Regions from separate parts of the Homo sapiens genome. Here region 1 is linked to region 2. The links are contacts of gene promoters, found by promoter capture Hi-C in blood cells and fetal thymus (Javierre and others, 2016). All regions are on one chromosome and are shown on one strand. The core of a region is centred on a gene start or on the middle of the fragment in contact, and the rest is flanking DNA. Distances in the headings are between cores, read along the strand shown. Region 1 overlaps MYO1D (myosin ID). Region 2 holds the start of PSMD11 (proteasome 26S subunit, non-ATPase 11).

Region 1 (2,700 bases), core at 41-2,540, 310 kb before region 2:
ACTATAGTACAGTAAACCCTATATACCCATCACCTGGCTTTAACACGTACCAGTTGATTGCCAGTCTTATGCCATCTGTACTATACCCACCTACTCCCAGATTATTTTGAAGCAAATTTCAGATATCACATTATTTCATCTATTCAATTGGGTATCTATTCAGTAAATATTTCCATGTATTTCTCTAAGAGAGTTTTACAAAAACCATAATCACAATGCCATTATCATACCTAAAACATTAACAAAAATTCCTTAATATCATAAAATATCCAGTCAGTATACATGTTTCATATTTCCTTAATTGTCTTCTGGTTGTTGTTTTGCAGGTTAAATTTGGATCCAAATAAGTTTCTTACATTATGATTGATTGATAGGTCTCTTGCATATCTATAGATTTTCTCCATGTTTCTTTTTTTCCTTGAATGATCTCTCTTTGCAATCTTGTGTTGAAGAGAATGAGTCATTTGTTATGGAGTTCCCCACAGTCTGGATTTTGCTAATTGCATTCCTCAGGTGCCATTTAATATGTTTCTCTGTTTCTTGTATGTCCTGTATATTGGTTGTTAGATCTAGAGTCTTGACTGGATTCAGAGTCAGTTTTTTTCCACAGCCCATTTCATAGACTGTGTGTGAACTTCCACCAGGAGGTTCATAATGTCTGGTTATCTGGTACATTCACTTTTAAAAGCTTTCGATGCTGTAGTTTGCAAATCATTTTAACTATTGAGAACTTGATACTCAAGCACAAAGCTGTTTTATCTGGAGTGGGTATGAAAGGCCAGAGCCCCATGTCCCTAAGCTACCCCATCACAAGTCTTCTGGCTCCTGGTATCCCTTAGGAAACCTTACGGGAATGCCAAGTTGCTGGAAGAACTTAGTTTGAAAACTACTGGTTTAAGCAATGTTTGAAGCAGTATTAAACTTACAAACTGAAAGTTACTAGCAGAGACCAATAGCTTTTAATAATATAATTGGGATTTTAGGGAAGGTAATTCTTTAGTCCCTGGGACAAAAGACTTCGTCTTTAATTTCACAGTCCCGAAGTCTAAGATGTCAACTATTAATATAGAGCTCCTGCTTTTTGAGTATTTTTAGGATTTTTTTTCCAAAGATGGAAATAACTTTTCTCCCTAATTAGAAATGTAATAAATGCCCATAATGAAAGTAAATATTTAGACCTACACTGCTTCACCTCAGTACTACTGAGATTTTGTGCCAGATAGTTCTTTGTTGTGGAGGCTGTTCTATGCATTGTAGGATGTTTAGCAGCACCCCTGGCCTCTACCCACCAAATGACAGTAGCACCCCTACCCCATTTTGACTAGAAATGTCTCCTGATATTGCCAAATGTCCCCTGGTGAGCAAAATTCCCCCTATTCCCCTATTTGAGAAACTTTAGTTTAGACAGATCAGAAAAGTATAAAAAACAAAGTAAAAACTACCCAGTTTACAGGTTTCAGTCCATAAGATACAGAAGAGAACATGCAAGACTAGAAATGGAGCTAAAAGCCATGTACAAATAACTGGCATAAAACCTTGGATTTTAAAGCATGAAATGGGAATACATGAGTCACTTGAATGGTCTATTATGAGTATATAGACCTTATAGAAGGTAATGGAGACAGCAATCAGTTTAGGTAACTCCTGCGTAAGATGGGACATAGCAAGATTAAACTGTGTGATCATAAGCTGCCCCTCTTTGAGATGTGCAGCTTGCCTGAGTTGGCCTTTCTTTGTGTGCCTTCTGTGTGTAGTGATAGGTACATTGCAGGCTGTCAGAATAAACAGGTGTGGCAGAGGATTGTTGGACAAACCTTGTACATGTATAGTTGCTGAAAAGCCAGAAGTTATTTATAACTTCATTCACCTTGTGGAAGTAAAGGAAAAGCTTTTTCTTATCTTTTATAGATATTTATTTCTCAGAATTAAATTCTTTATATTATGCCTAGAAAAATGTAAAAATTCTACTGAATTTTTTCAAATTGTTCAAAATTCTATTGAAGCTTTTTAACTTTGGGGAAACCAAAAGAAATGCTCTTTTGGATTTTAGTCATTCAGGGTCATGTAACTAAAAATGCAAGTTCTTTTTTTTTTTTTTCCGTTTTAAGTGGAGTTTATTTAACACTAAGAGATAAAGGGTTGTTAACAAACACAATGACAAATGGACATCTGATTGGGATGAGGCATTATCCTGTACACATAATGTTGATATTTTTGTGTACCCTCAGTGCATGGCATTTACACATAGAGCCACTACTGCACAGCACAAGAGTATCTGAAGAGGCTGAATCAGAGTAAGGCTGTTTAAAAGACTGAAATTTTTTAGTATATATATTCTGCATGAAAACAGAACTTTTGAACTGGCAGGTAGAAGGCAACTCTGCCAAACACTACAGTTAAAGCCCCCACTTTAGTGCACAGTTCCACCCCTTCCATCTGCATGCGTGACACATTAACAGTATTTAAAGGTAAACGAGGCACTTTGTGGCAACTGCAGCCATCGTTATGAACATATTGCACAAAATTTCTAGAACTAAACATTTAACTTGTACCCTACTTTTATAAAATTGCAAGTTTTGTGTAGTACCTTAACTTTATTATGAAGTAGTATATCAGATAATACTTTAAGGTTATTTGTTGGCCCTTTGTGGAAGGTGGACCTTACAGTTAATGGCAGGCAGATTGGTATGAAGGAGTAGG
Region 2 (2,700 bases), core at 81-2,580:
ACGCCCACTTCCTCTCCTTCTCTAGTATCCCCAATGATAAAGTATCAAGATCTTGTCATTGTCCTTTCTCCGTGCAGGTCTGGAATACCAAAATTCAACACACTAAGTCAAATGCCAACATCTTGCAAGTCCCACATACAGGTGCATTCTCATACTACTTGTTGAGCCAATTCAGATCTTCCCAAACTACACTACAAAGATGCCATTACATGTGCAGTGAAGAGCTAGTCCAAGCCCTAATTGAATCCTTTATGAGTGAACATTAACGTCTTCTTCTGTCGTAATAAATTTCTGTTCACACTTGAATCCCAACAGAAAGCTGCCGGAAGCGACTGGCTGGGATTCCCATTTCAGTTTTCCTGTTGTGTGTAGGTGTAAGACCATCGTTATTACAGCGTTAAGAAATTTTAATTTTTCCGGCAACATGCAGCCGACCCGTTCCAAAGAATTCCCTGAACTCCGCGGCTGACAACTAACTCCCTTAACTCACTTCCAACCCCTACAGGCAGTCTGGAAAGATTAGTCACCTCCTCTAGCCAGGCGGTCCCGCTCCAACACCTCACTCTTACACCCTACACAGAGCAGATGAGCGTCTCGGCCACCTCCACAAACCAAATGCCAATCTGAGGTGTGTGTCACCCCTGAATTTCCCACATTCTGAAAGAGACCCTCCTCTTAGTGGAGCTTTCTGCCGTGGGGCTGAGGAGTAGCAGCTCCCAGCGTCCCGTGGAAGGAAACTCCCAGAGAAGAGCAAGCGCTCGCGCTCCCACCCGGAGCAGGCTGTGCTGATTACAACGGCGGGAAATGCCTGTCCAGAGCTGGTTTCGCCAAGGCCTTTCAAGTAGAGACTCTAGGACCAGTCCGTGACAAGCACGCCGGCCGGCACTGCTCCGGGTCCCAGACCAGCTCGTGCGGGCCAGAGCCGGGGACATGGCTAGGGAGGGATCCCCGGGGGCCCGGCTCGGCCCACTCTCCCACCCTACGCTGAGCCCCCCGTGAGTCAGCAGCCGGCGAGGGGACCCGGGGATTGCCTCAAGCCCTCCCACAAGAGTGAGACCTGGGAGGCTCTGGGGAGCTCCGAGCGGCCTGCGCCCCCGGCCCGGCCCCCCTCACACAGTGAGTCAGCAGCATCAGAGCCGGCTAGCCGGGCCCCTCTCCGCTGCCGCCGACCGACATAAGCCGAGCTGGGCCGGCGGGGCCGGGGAGGCGGCGCGGCGACCTTTACCGATGGAGTGGAGGATGTCGATGGAGGCCTCCCGGTCGGTGCTGAGTAGAGACTGGGCTCTCTGGAACTCCACCACCGCCGCCGCCGCCATCTTACCGCTCTCACACCGTCCCCGGCCGCGGCCGCCGACGCCGGAAACACACACCCGGAAAGCCCGCCCTCGGGTCCCTCCGCCTGTAGCTCCCGTGGCTCCGTTCCCAGAGCACTCCGGGAGTTGTAGTCTCTCCGCCGGGCGCGGGCTGAGGGGTGGGGAGAGCGGGACCGCCTCGCAGGTGGGCTGCAAGCTCCCCAGCGCCTCCTAGCGGGCGGCCGGCGAGGAAAAGAGGCGGTGCCCCGCAGTGGGAGCTCTAGATCGGTCCCCGCCCACCCCAAAAGAGGCTTCTTGATTCCGGCCCCGCTCGCGCACCCCTGAGAGGGGTTCCTGAGTACTGGGCTAGGTATTGAGTCAAAGCTGCGTGGCTTTCTTTGCGGCTTCCACGATTTAACCATTCATTCGGGACGATAAGTGACCTTATAAAGTGCTCGCTATGTGGCAAAGAATAGCACCATTCGAATGCGTTCCAGTGTCTGACGCCTGTGCGCCGCACACACGCTTTCCAGGCTTGACTCCCGCAGAACGCTGGCCGGCAGGTGGGCAAACCCGCCAGGACCGGAGAAAACTGTCCTCACGCGCCCATTTAACCTTGGGACAGTGCTGGACGTGATGAAGTGAAACATCACCTTTGCTCCATTCACGCCACAAATACCTCTTGGGAATCCACAGAAGCCTCACCCAGCTCCCCAGCTCAAAGAAAAAAAAAAAAAAAGGAAGGAAGGAAGGGAGGGAGGGAGGGACGGAGGAAGGAAAAAATTGAATTATTCTTCCCAATATCTTCAGCCCCTTCAACTAAAGTCACAGATATCAGTGAAGACGTCGTGTGGACGGAAAAATGACATTCTATGAGACCACTTAGGGTTAAACTTAAGAAAGGTGCTAAAAGGATACAAAGACAATTCAGTATTAAGGAAGACCTTTCTCTAGGTGATGACGATCCAAAAATGGAATGTGCTGTCCCATAAAAGGAGGCAAAAAGGGGACTAACATTGCACACCCTCCTCTGTAAGTGGATTAGGCCATTTATATTCCTCTATCTCCTTTTATTCTCCCAACAATGTTCTGTAAAGCAGATATTTACTCCCCTTTAATATGTGAGGAAACAGGGGTTTGAGTTATTTGGTGAAGCTCAAATCGTGATTGGGAGAGATAAGAGCTGCCGGTTAGGGAATGCCTTCCTAATTCCTGGGTGTGTTCACGTGAAAAGTAGTTGACATCTCATCAGGTTGTTGTAAACAGGATTCATGACTTTGATGGAGAGTTGGATTAAATGGCTTCTAGCAAGGCGCGGTGGCTCATGCCTGTAATCCCAGCACTTTGGGAGGGCGAGGTGGGCATATCGCTTGAGCCCAGGAGTTTGAGACTAGCCTGGGCAACATAG

Evidence for each region. Contacts are between HindIII fragments. The CHiCAGO score rates a contact against its expected background, and 5 or more counts as called.
Region 1: a fragment that was not itself captured here is called in contact with the fragment with the promoter of PSMD11 in region 2 in 15 of 17 cell types (naive CD4 T cells, total CD8 T cells, fetal thymus and 12 more); the score reaches 13.3 in naive CD4 T cells.

Annotation. Positions count from the first base shown.
Region 1 is chr17:32,755,975-32,758,674 of GRCh38, reverse strand. The region is part of intron 10 of MYO1D (myosin ID); the gene reads left to right. Among named protein-coding and RNA genes, the nearest start is that of MYO1D-DT, 120 kb to the left of the region's middle. The HindIII fragment of the contact is 1,200 bases long and covers 691-1,890 here.
Region 2 is chr17:32,443,140-32,445,839 of GRCh38, reverse strand. PSMD11 (proteasome 26S subunit, non-ATPase 11) reads right to left here and starts at 1,330. Exons shown (of 14, transcript NM_002815.4): 1 at 1,226-1,330. The coding sequence starts at 1,316. RefSeq lists enhancers at 1,241-1,320, 934-1,549 and a silencer at 1,441-1,610. The HindIII fragment of the contact is 4,191 bases long and covers 1-2,700 here.